Linked DNA regions of Homo sapiens: regions 1 and 2 are each linked to region 3. Evidence: promoter capture Hi-C in 16 types of primary human blood cells and fetal thymus (Javierre and others, 2016). All regions are on one chromosome and are shown on one strand. The core of a region is centred on a gene start or on the middle of the fragment in contact, and the rest is flanking DNA. Distances in the headings are between cores, read along the strand shown.

What was found. Contacts are between HindIII fragments. The CHiCAGO score rates a contact against its expected background, and 5 or more counts as called.
Region 1: a contact is called between a fragment that was not itself captured here and the fragment with the promoter of CXCL2 in region 3, in 2 of 17 cell types (M1 macrophages and megakaryocytes). The highest score is 6.9, in M1 macrophages.
Region 2: a fragment that was not itself captured here is called in contact with the fragment with the promoter of CXCL2 in region 3 in 1 of 17 cell types (monocytes); the score reaches 5.0 in monocytes.

Annotation. Positions count from the first base shown.
Region 1 is chr4:73,858,752-73,862,850 of GRCh38, forward strand. No RefSeq gene overlaps it. Among named protein-coding and RNA genes, the nearest start is that of PF4V1, 7.5 kb to the left of the region's middle. The HindIII fragment of the contact is 2,261 bases long and covers 1,443-3,703 here.
Region 2 is chr4:73,892,656-73,896,574 of GRCh38, forward strand. No RefSeq gene overlaps it. Among named protein-coding and RNA genes, the nearest start is that of CXCL1, 25 kb to the left of the region's middle. The HindIII fragment of the contact is 1,267 bases long and covers 955-2,221 here.
Region 3 is chr4:74,097,727-74,101,917 of GRCh38, forward strand. CXCL2 (C-X-C motif chemokine ligand 2) reads right to left here and starts at 1,469. Exons shown (of 4, transcript NM_002089.4): 1 at 1,295-1,469; 2 at 1,073-1,196; 3 at 875-958; 4 at 1-45. The coding sequence starts at 1,394. The coding sequence ends at 30. The HindIII fragment of the contact is 3,135 bases long and covers 931-4,065 here.

The sequences.
Region 1 (4,099 bases), core at 1,323-3,822, 240 kb before region 3:
GTGTGTCCTCATATTTTGTGTTCTATTCTACTCTATCCTACCACATTCCATTTTTTAAAAGATGTTGGCCACACCACTATAAAGTGATTTCATAACCTACTGATGTACCATGATGTGTAGTTTAAAAACACTCCTCCAGTTCTTTGATTAAAGAGTTAAGTTGTGACGGTCTATATTGGATTCCACACTCCAGATAAAATGCTTGAAGAGCCATTAGGGGCAGGATACTAAGGCCTAGCTGAAAAGTTAAATCTCCTGGTCTATAGTGTTCCTTTAATCTCAGTCACCATCCCTCACCTGGGGTTGGAGTCTCGAGGAAACCCATGAAAAACAGCTTCTGTGGTAAAGATGTCACACCAAATAGGATGTTGTCGGGATTGTTGAGACTCTAGGTCCTTTTCAGCTTGGGCTACCATTTATATTTCCTGACCATCTGCTTCAGCCGTGTACTGCCTAGCTTGGTCCCAAATGTAAATTGGGTTAAGAACAGAAAACACATCGATTTCTAGGAGGGCTCAAATAAAAGCAGCATATTCACACTCAGTGGACTTAACTAGCTGTTATATAAAATTCTTCCCATATGGGTTTTTTCCTTATTATTCCTGTAGATGCTGGCATTAGCCCAGTGGGCTTTTGAGAAAGACAGTTTGGGTTGTATCTCAGCTTTGACTCTGTGTGACCCTGGGTCTCCTCAGTTCCCTTATTCCAAAACAAGGACAATAAAGCCCACCACACAGGGTACTGAAAAGGATTAAATCACACTTACAATAGGATCCAGTATGGGTTCTTACTCAGAATTGAAACCTAGTAAATAAATGTTTCCTTTCCTCTTCTTGGAGTTCTACTCTCAGGGAACATAACATTTCCAGCAGAAGCCACAATCCCTGAGCTAGCAACCAACTCTTTAAGAATACAGCCAATAAGCCAGTACTTCCCTTGCTCAGAACCACAACCCAAAGCTTGGGTGCAGACAGCTAGTTAAGAAAAAATTTAGCATGACAGACACAAGTAGTATTTTCCTGATAACAACTAAAAGAAAATTAAATAACAAAACCACAATGTTTGTCAGCCAGCATATCTGTAAGATTATAAAATATACAGGACATCTAGTGAACTGTATATTTATACAGGAGGCTGGCTTAGCTATTTTTCCAGGAAAGAAAACAAGAAAAAATAAACTTTAGACTTAAATTTGCCAAGTATTTACTTCTTCACTGAAGCAGGCACAACATGAGGATTATGTCACTATTCAGCATTTGTGGTGAGAGGCAATCCAACTTGAAACAGAGCAGTCAAAACAGAGTTGGAACAGCCAGCTCTTACTTATCAGCTGTGTTGGAGAATCAGTTTTCTTTTCTCAGTAATTCTAGGGATAGCTATAGGGAATGTTAGGAAATAAGCAATAAAGCAATTTACACACGCCTCCATCAGAATAACTATTAAGCTTCACTGTAATTATTCCTTTATCTATTTTCCTACTTTAAATCAGAGAATAAGGATTAAGCCTATTCCATCTCTTCATTCTGGATTTCAGAAAAATGCCTGATAGAGTAGGTGTTAAGTAAATGTGTGTCAAATATTAACTACTTGGAGAAGAATAAATCTGCAGTTAGTGCTGTGAAGTAATGGTGCAGTTGGGTGCTAAGGATAAGCTACTCAGCCAACAGAAAGTTAGTTGAAAATTAAAGAAAGACACCGTTTTCCCAGCTCTCGATCTTGTTAGGCTCACTGATCTCATCAAGTTATTCATAGACATTATAACACACCCATACTATCTGCCTCATCAGTGATTTGTTTGATGTTTTAATTAGAGTCGCATTCGTAACTATTAGGGACTCTGTTAAGAGTTCCCCTCGTCTGTCTATTCACGTGCTCTCATCATACACAGATGCTATGATATAGACATATTAAACATTATTTTATTATAGATGTTTGCTTCAATGTACAACATACAGATGGTAAATTACACACAACCAAGCCCTTGTTCCTCCTCTTTCACTATAATACCCACCATATCTAATTAGATCTTGTATTTCTTTAGTGTCCTTAATTAACTACTTACTTAATTAACTAGAAATGTCAATCAAGGAACTAGCTCAGTCACACACCAGTAGAGCAACCTCTTTGAAATCAGTATTGTTCAGGAAAATCTGTTTCAAAGATTACCTAAGTAAATGGACTGATCAAGAAGGTAAAAAGGAAAACACAAATATTTCTTACCAAAAAATTGAAGGATAATGAATGTTGGAAAATACTATGGACAAGATGTTAACATAAGTTCTCATGATGATTCAAACTTTTCTTTGCTGAAATCTGCGTTTTTATGCTATGTATGCTATTTTCATTTGTGGTTTATATGTTCATCCTTCAATTTCCTAAATTTTGTTTTCGGAATGACAAAGTCATAATAACGTTTTCTTCTCCAAAACAAATTTCTTGCATAATTATTTCCAAGAGAAACTTTTCATTTCCTTATCCTTTGCAATCCTGTAATTCTTTTTTTTTTTTTTTAAATATATGCTCATGATGTCATTACTTGGTGAATACCACTTCCAGATAGGTCAGAAAACAATCTTAAAGAAAACAGAGATGCAAAAAGATTTATAAAAACCTTTTTAAAAAACAATAACCAGCCGGGCATGGTGGCTCACGCCTATAATCCCAGAACTTTGGGAGGCTGCGGCGGGCGGATCACCTGAGGTTGGGAGTTCGAGAACAGCCTGACCACTATGGAGAAATCCCGTCTCTCCTAAAAATATAAAAAAATTAGCCATGTGTGGTGGTACATGCCTGTAATCCTAGCTACTCGGGAGGCTGAGGTAGGAGAATCACTTGAACCTGGGAGGCGGAGGTTGCAGTAGCCGAGATCATGCCATTGCATTCCAGCCTGGGCAACAAGAGTGAAACTCTGTCTCAAAACAAACAAACAAACAAACAAAAAAAAAAAAAAAAAAAAAAATATAAAAACAATAACCACCCCTCCAAAAAAAAATCTGGCAAAGCTAATATATCAAATGATTCTCAGTGTTACCTGAATGATTTTAAGTATCTGTAGACTAATCATAACATCAGATTATCATGCCAGGAACAGAAAAACAAATAATATAGCATTGCAAGAGAAAGTAGTCAGGCTAAACAAAGAATTTTACATTAGAATTCATATTTTATCCAACTTTTCCTCTTCTACTAAACTTATCACTGTGCCTTTTACACGCAGATGAATTTTAAAATGTGTGGGAAGAATAGCTATTATCTACTCACTTACTGCCTAGATCATGAACCTGTAATGACCTGGATTGTTCTATCAGCCCTAAGGCAAATGACCTATAAACCAAACACAGATATTCCAGCTCCATCTGTGACAAGGACCTCCCTGGCCTTATTCCTAACATTGTTCCCCTTCTGTTCCACACCTGGGAGAGCTCAAGCCCTCTGGCTTTGGATGCAGGTCCCATCTGTCTCTTTAAATGTATTGGCAGACCTGGGCATCAGAGCTTTCTAAGGACTTTGGTTCAGACTCATTACTCTGGCTTTCCCAGGTAGGGGATCCCCTTTTCTAGCTCTTACTATAGAATTCAAACTGTGGCTCTGACCCAACTGTCATATCTGGTTTCATTAAATGTCCACTGGCATCTTTTATTCTGGTCCTGAAAAGTCAAAATAGGCAAAAGAAACTAAGGAAATTCCACACTCCATCAAGGGAAGCTTCCACATATCCTGACTTAAGGATATTTTAGTTTTAAAACAGTGACCTGAAACCATTGACTCATGCATTATGTCAGCAAACATTTGTTGAGTGCTTAGCATGAACCAGACTCATTTTAGAGACTTTTTCTTCTAGCTCCTTCTAACTCCCTGTTTGAAAACTTATCTTCATGTTTACATCTTCTTTTTCCAGAGTCCTGGCACAAAGCTTCCCGTGAACTTTCAGGACCAGATATTCATAGTTTTTGATGGGTCCCTAGGAAAACCACTGGTGTGAGAGAATTTTAGAGTCTGGTGGATGCAAACAGGAATGAGATATATGATGGCTTTCCTTACAGAATACACAATCCAGTATGGGAGTATGTAAATCAATGCTCCCCACAATGTGATTTGT
Region 2 (3,919 bases), core at 338-2,837, 200 kb before region 3:
TAATCTGTGTTCTCCATCAGTGATAAGCCATGCCACAATTATAGAGATTTTAAAATGTGATAAAATGTGCCTTTTAGACTCACTGAAATACAGCATGTGTCTTATCATCTTCAACACTCTATTTTCAGGCAGTTGTGCATTGAGTTGTAGATTGTACTGCTGAGGAAAAGCAAGTCTTTTACCTGTAATCTTGCATCTATCACCCATGATATATCTACCTACAGAGAAAAAGAGGTGTATTGTAAAGTTGACTCATCTAGTCTCTCTGCTTCTGAGGGAAACATTGACTTATTTAGATGGGTGAGTTTGAAACAATCAACTTTGCATAACATCTCCTGCTTACCTTTTTCACAGAACCACTCACCCTCCTGTAAAGTAAATGATCTGTTCTGCTCTCTGCCAAGAATAAAAGTAGCTTATCGCATAGGGCATACCTAAGATTTTCCAACCCAGCTTGTGACTACATAGATAGGTCTGCCTAATTCTGGGGGTCAGTGTTAGGAAGTACACCTGTCCACAGAAACAAACCACTGGCTCTAGTACCAGCTTCATTATTAGTAAGCAGGATATTTTTATATCTTATCTAAGTTACTTTCTTTTTCATCTCAATTGAATCAAAAGTCATAACTCAAGAAGGGATAAACGATGCTACCTGTAGGCTTCCTAGAAAAACAACTAGCATACATGCACGCCCTTGGCTCTGATGAGCAGGAAGCCCTCTATACTAGAACGGAAAAACTACAATAAGATGGTCCATTAAAGGTGGCATTGTGAAGTTCAATCCATCATGTAATCATCCCTTTCTCATCCTGCCTGACACAGTCATAATCACAACCCCAGTCTGCTTCTGAGTGTGTTGAGTGTGTTATTTCTTATCTGCCCAGGGGGACCTATTCTTTCTTCTCATTCTCCTTTGGCTTCTCTTAGCCTCCTCCCAACAAAAATGCAGTGCAAAGCTTTATTTATAACCTGTGATAGGTTTGGCTGCCTTTGTTCTGCCATCAACCGTCAGAGAAGCAACCCAGGCACTAATTCAAACCAAAGAGCAGGCAGCCATATTCTATTGGAGCGGATGTGGCATGGTGTAAAGATCTCATAAGGACCATGTGTTGACTCCCTGAAAGCCATCACATTAGAATAAATAATTATACCAATGCAACCACAATCTACTTTGCTTGTCCACATTCTCAAAGACCAACAAACTGAGACCAAAAGCAGCTATGACTTCCAGAAGTGAAGTTTGAAGATAGAACGACTTCGGCCCAGCTCCACGTTTATCCTATTTCTTTGTATGCATTTTATATTGAAAAAAATACGGTACATTTTCTTCATAAAAATTCTGCTGGGATGCTTATTTTTATTTTCTTCACCTAGGAAAATCATTCCCATACACTGCACTGACTTTTAGATTATGTAATATAACTTGTAATTATTTTATTTTATTTTTTTTTTGCAGCTTGCCTCACATCCTCTCAGTCCTCCTGCTACTCAGCAATTCCTGCAGCAAACAAACTGCTCTGTGTGAGTTTAACCAAACAGCATGTGGTGTTAGCTACATTCCATGCCCTCGTTTCATGTCCTGGAGCTTTTCTAACATGGGAGCACCCAGGAGTGACAGGCAGTTGACCTCCTTTGTGCCACTGATGGATATTATGGGATGGGAGCTGTCAGTTAAATTCTCCCCACTTCTACCCCTAGGACACATTATTCTGAGGCACAACTACGATAAGCATTATCATTCTCTTCACCTGGAAGAAGTTGTAGAGGTTCCATCTCAGAAGACCAGAAACAGCATGATAAAGCATGGACTTCCTCAAGAAGAAGAAATCACATTTAGAGCTGTTGAATTTAGAACAAGGCAGAAGGAGATGGTCAAACTAGTTTGTTCTACACCTTGTTCCAACATCTTTTCAAGAGAAAAATCACTGGCCCTAATGGAAGGATGTTTATGTAACTAACATAAAGAGATGTCATAATCACCAATTAGAAAGAGAGAATGCAGATGAGAATCAGAGCAATGCTCAGTGCTCACTGAATCTATATTATAGCAGGCTAATGTTAGTCTAAGGCTGACTCTATGTGCAATGACTTAAAAAATATTATTTTAGAGTTCTTCAGAAGACTTAACAGTGCTTTTGGCATTTATTCCATTACAATGTGCTAGACAGACATGATAATTTGTAGTGATACAATTGTTCAATACAGGTAACTTATTTTACCAAGCTTTTCTTCTTTTTTTCAAATCAAGATGGTTAAACTGTTATAGTAGGTAGCTAGTCAGACATGAACAGGGCAAGAGAAGGCTCCCCTCACACATACACAGCGGGAACACCAGGCGACCAGCAGATGATGGTCAGGCAGTTGTTAACTGAGTCTCTAAAACAATAATTGGTCACAGCCAGTACCAGGGGAGGGCAGTCTCCCCATAGATAGAAAACACCTGAAACTAGTGATCAGCAGCTTCCCAATAAGATCTCAGAAGTTGGGTGAGCGGGCTCAAGCATGCACATTAAAATGGCAGAATTTAATCAGCAAATGACCTTCCAGGAACATTTGACTGGTAAAAGAAGAACGCCTCAAGTGAGCATGTGTGCAACTCCAGTAAACACACTGTACATGCTCAACTCCCAAGTGCTAGCAGGCCACTGTGCATGCAGACAGCCCATCCCAAGGGAAGAATCGGGAGAAGTAAGGCAAGACCCTGGAAGTACGCCAATGTATAAAACCGCTAGTCAGAAGGTCAAACCTCACACTGAATCTCTCAAGTCACCCACTTGGCCCTCTTCCAAGTGTACTTTACTTTCTTTCACTCTTGTCCTAAAGCTTTCAAATAAGCTTTCACCCCTGCTCAAATACTTGCCTCAGTCTCTCCTTCTGCCTTATGCCCCTCCGTCAAATTATTTCTTCTGAGGAGGCAAGAATTGAGATGGCTGCAGAATCATACAGGTAAGGATTTGCTGCCGGAGCAAAACTACCAGACAATGTCAAGCACAGTGTGTTCCCAGCGCAATAACAGATTACACATTTATGAGGTTTTATGAGTGACACATTTCCAGAGCAAAGCTGGAGAAGGAACCACATAGATATAGATCAATAATAGAATAATTGTGACCATTGCTTGTTCTTTCTGAGGCTGGACAATTAAAAAGAAGTCAGGCTGTTATGAACCTCCAGAGGTGACTTATTTCTCCTAAGGTCACAAGTGAGGAAGACCACTGCCTTAAGTCATTGCCCAGGCTCAAACACTGAGAGGAGATAGAGTTGAAAATGGATCCAGATCAGTCCCCCAACCAGGCAAACAGCCTCACTCAGGAAACTTGTTTGGTGGCCTCAAAGGTCACTTTTTTTTCATGATACACCTTGACACACCTAGGAAAAAAATATTTGAAAGGTTTGAAGGGTGAACCGATATCATCCAGAAAGAAGAGAAGAAAACAGGGCTTGGTCACATACAATGTGAAGAGATTATTCGAGAGTGACTTCTCTTGCCAATGACTAGCAGAGAAACTTCAAAAAAGAGGCAACAACTTCCCTTGGTTATGTGTTTTACCAAATGAGGTCTACCTTTACCACTGCAGCAGAAATGCTGCCTTTCTTAACTCGTTCACTTATGTATCTCAAACAGCATGCGCTTACCTAAAAAAGCACTGTAGAAAAAGGTAATACGAATCACGGACATTAATAAAATCTGTGGAATCTTCCTTTAGTTATCATTAAATTCATCCAAATCCAGATCATTACCATAACGGACATTGTAAAATTCTCAGGAAAAAAAGCCATTTTTACTGAACATATCTTAGCAAAGTCTATTACGGTTAAACTATTGTAATGTGCTTTCTCAGTAACTCAATTTTATTTAATTATTGCTATTTTTTAGGAATAGAGCAAAAGTATTTGCTCTGAGCGTCCTACATGTGGT
Region 3 (4,191 bases), core at 219-2,718:
CCACCAATAAGCTTCCTCCTTCCTTCTGGTCAGTTGGATTTGCCACTGTAATGAGAAAATGGGTGCCCTGAGTAGGTGCTCAGGAAAGCTGACTGCACAACAGTCTTCTCCTGTCCTGTTTCCCCAGGCTCTAGAGTTTTCTGAATGCAGTTTCCCCAGCCTGGCACCCAAGTGGGTACTGCCTGTGACAGCTGTGCTGTGTGGCAAGGACCTCTAGGCTTGGGATGCTCTTTTAGGAATGGGGGTGACGTGGGGTGGAGGAGTGGCAGTCTACACTGTTTTACTGGCTAAAACAGCCAGAGCCTATTGCTCTTTGTCATACTGGGCCTCACTTGAGCCTCAAAGCAACCTCATGATGTAGCTACCATTATTTTCCCTGTTTTGCTGAGTCTCAGATAAACTAAATAATATTGTCTCTGAGTGACATGGCTAATAGGTGGTGGCAACCAGTTATATACCCAGTGCAATATTATTGTGAAATCTCTGCACTTCAACCCTAAACTTTTACAAAAAACCAGGGGGTCTGCTTTTCAGGTCTGAAAGTCAGTAGGAACTAGGGGAAATGAAGCTTGTGTTTTTTAACAGGTGGAAAACACTTCAGCACAACTGGCAAACTCCAATGAGACCTTACATGAAAGCAGTTTTACCTACATTCACTGGCAGGAGGGAAGAACCTGGGTGGTGACCCTGGGCACTGGGAATATCCTCTGGCACCAGAACAGATTAATAACCTTAATGGCAACTTTGTGAAAATAATAATTTTTTCAGTCCTGCAGCTAACCCTGGGTTTTCCTGATTTACTTTTTAGGGGGCAGACGCCAGTATTTCTGACCAACAGCTCCAGTCGCCTGTGTACATGGAAATTATAACTTACTTTTTCAGCATCTTTTCGATGATTTTCTTAACCATGGGCGATGCGGGGTTGAGACAAGCTTTCTGCCCATTCTTGAGTGTGGCTCTGCAGAGAGAAGGGAATCTCGTGAGACAGGAGGTCGGGCTGAGGACAGGGTTTGGGGCAGCGGGAGAGTCGGGGACCCCAGCAGTGGCAGCGGCAGCGATGGGCGAGACTTACATGACTTCGGTTTGGGCGCAGTGGGGTCCGGGGGACTTCACCTTCACACTTTGGATGTTCTTGAGGTGAATTCCCTGCAGGGTCTGCAAGCACTGGCAGCGCAGTTCAGTGGCCAGGGGCGCTCCTAGGGAAGAAGAGACTCGCTGATTGAGCGGGGCTGTCGGCGCGGGGCGCCCACCCCAGCCGCGTCCGGCCCGGGGACCCCAGGGCGCCGGGACCCACCTGCTGCGCGCCGGCTGGCGGCCACCAGGAGCAGGAGCAGCAGCGCCACCCGCAGGAGCCGGGGATTGCTGGGGGCGGCGGAGAGCGTGGCGCGGGCCATGGGGCTCAGCAGGCGGTTCGAGCGGCTGTGCGAGGAGGAGAGCTGGCAAGGAGCTGCCTGTGGCCCGGGCTCTGTGGCTCTCCGAGAACGGCGAACCCCTTTTATGCATGGTTGGGGCTGGAAAGCCCGGAGTCCCGGGCCAGGGAAATTCCCGGAGCTCCAGATCGATCCCGAGTTCGGAAGGAAGGCGATGGCCCCGCCTCTGGGGTGGAGGGGGGTCGGGGCACTCACGAGTGACGTCCGGGTCTGACTGTCTTGCGTAACTCCCGCCAACTGTGGGATGTTCTCTTTCTGCCCCGAATCCCTGGAGCGGGAGCGAGAGCCCGCCGCTCTCAGAGATACCGAGATAACCGCCTGCGAGGAGGCGCTTCGTGAACCCAGTGCAGTGCGTCGTGGGTCAGATCCCTTAGACCCACGTAGGGACCGCGCTACATCCTTACCGGGGGGAGTTACTTCTCTGGAAGACATTTCAGTTGTTGGGATTGAAAGTTAGGGCAAGAACTGCAGCATGTCTTATCTATCCTCTCTCTTTAGTTTGGGTTCTGCAAATTTCATTAATGTTTGAAATAAACGCACGCTTTAACAGTACATGTGTCATCTCAGATGACGCATAAGAGCTTTTGTCTCCTTCCTGGTGTTTTATGATCTTAAAAGCAAATATCACGTGTGTGTGTGTGTGTGTGTGTGTGTGTGTGTGTGTGTGTGTGTGTTTCAACGTAGTGGAGCCAGGTGTTGGGTGCGGGAACAGACCATTGCCAAGGGTCAATTCAGTGTTTATTTTAGTTAACAGTGTTGCAATCCCCCATCCTTTCTCTCTTTGAAATCTTGGAACATCTCGAACTCTAGTAATTCCAGTAGCATCAATTTTTTGTTGTATGGAAGTCTGTGTTTTGATCCATGGAAGTCACTGGGAGCTGCGAGGGGCCTGTTGGGCTCAGGAGGTCTGCCTTTTCTAGTGCTGTCCCTGGGCAGAAAAGGCCATAGACACCACCAGAAAAGGAGCAGGGAATGAGACTCCGCTTGTTTACTACTCTAAGCACAAGCAGACATGTCTGATATATACATACTAGATTGCTAACATAATTGCATTTCCATGCCATATGTATTTACCAGCATCCTGGGATTGGTTCCCTCTAGAGAAACAGCTATCGAGGAAATTTTAGTTCTAGAGGAATGTCAATAAAGCATTTCCAAGCCTGTTTAGCTGATGCCTTCTCACTGGATTACTGACTTTTCATCATCAATTTCAATGACCCCCTCTCTTTAAAAATTAAGCTGTAGGCCTACAATACTCTGTCTTAATTCTTCCTGGTGGATGCAGACTTCAGGGATATGGAGATATTCTGCCACTGCTATGAGAAGGGCTGGGAGTGGCACGAGGATGAAGAAGTGGGACTACCTTAGGAATAGAGTGTTCCCTGGATGCTGCAGCTGTAGAGATCACTTGATAAGGATGTCAGGGCTGAAGTTTCAGCCATACCACTAACTTGCTTCATGACCCTTGGTAATTTATGCTTTATTTGCTCATGTTTCTCCCCTGTAGAAGAGCTTATAATAGTGCCTGCCTCACGGGGTTGTTAGAAGTATTGATTGTTAATATGTGTAAACCATCAGTGCATGTAAAGTGTTATGTAAATATTTGTTAAATAACAAAATAGAAGTGGTGTTTCACAACCTTACTGATATAGGCTGGATGTTTGTGTCTCTTTCAAATTCAGATGATGAAGCCCTGACTCCCTTATGTGCTAATATTAGAAGACAGGACCATGGGAAGTAATTAGGTTTAGGTGAGGTTATGAAGGTATGGCCCCCATGATGGGATAAGTGCCATTACAGCAAGAGATCAGTGAGCTTTCGATCTCTGGCTCTCTCTCCCTTTCTGCATTGTGAGGACACAGCAAGAAGGCCACCATCTGCAAACTGAGAAGAGGGCCCTCACCAAGCATGAAATCTGCCAGGATCTTAATCTTGGACTCCCCAGCCTCCAGAACTGTGAAATAATTGTTGTTTAAGCCCCCTAGCCTATGGCATTCTGTTATAGCAGCTCAAACTGACTAAGACACTTAACTAAACAGAAGCACTCTGATAAAGCCTTATGAACACACACACGCACAAAGAAAGAAATATTTTCAAAGAAACATCTTCTAATTTACCTTTAAAATTTTTCAGCATCAGAAATTTTAAAGGAGGGTGCATTTCTATCCTTATGGGATCTTACAATAATTTTTTGATCCATTGTTTGTTTGAAATTTTAGTTTCAATCACTTTCCACATAAAATGAGAATAAGAGTAAAATTCTACCCTATCCATTTATTAGAAAAGATTTATGAAATGACTCTGCCTTGGGCATTAACAGCTAGCTGCCCAAACTTCTTTATTTTGTGCTAAAGAACTAAAGAACAATAGAAAACATCAGCTTATAATGATTGCCAGACTCATCCCAAAGTATTGATGTGAGTAAATAGAAAGAGTAAAATTTCTATTATCTACAGTAACAGTCCCTCAAAAAGATGAGAAATTTCAAGAATCAGCCCATCATTTGTAAAATTATGTACGTTATTCCTAGAATTTGTTTACTAAAAATTATTTGCTTTAGGAAGGGAAGTAGAATTCCTTTTTCTTTTCTTAATATACCACTTTCCATGATTTAACTTATGACAGCCCCAGACCAAGCTTCTGAAGTTTTTAAGGGTACCAGTGTTATGAAACTTACCATAATAAATTCCTTCTTGTCTTAATATGAGTTGAGTGCCACTGTTACAGGCACAAGTTGTAAACCCATGCAATTACTAACTCA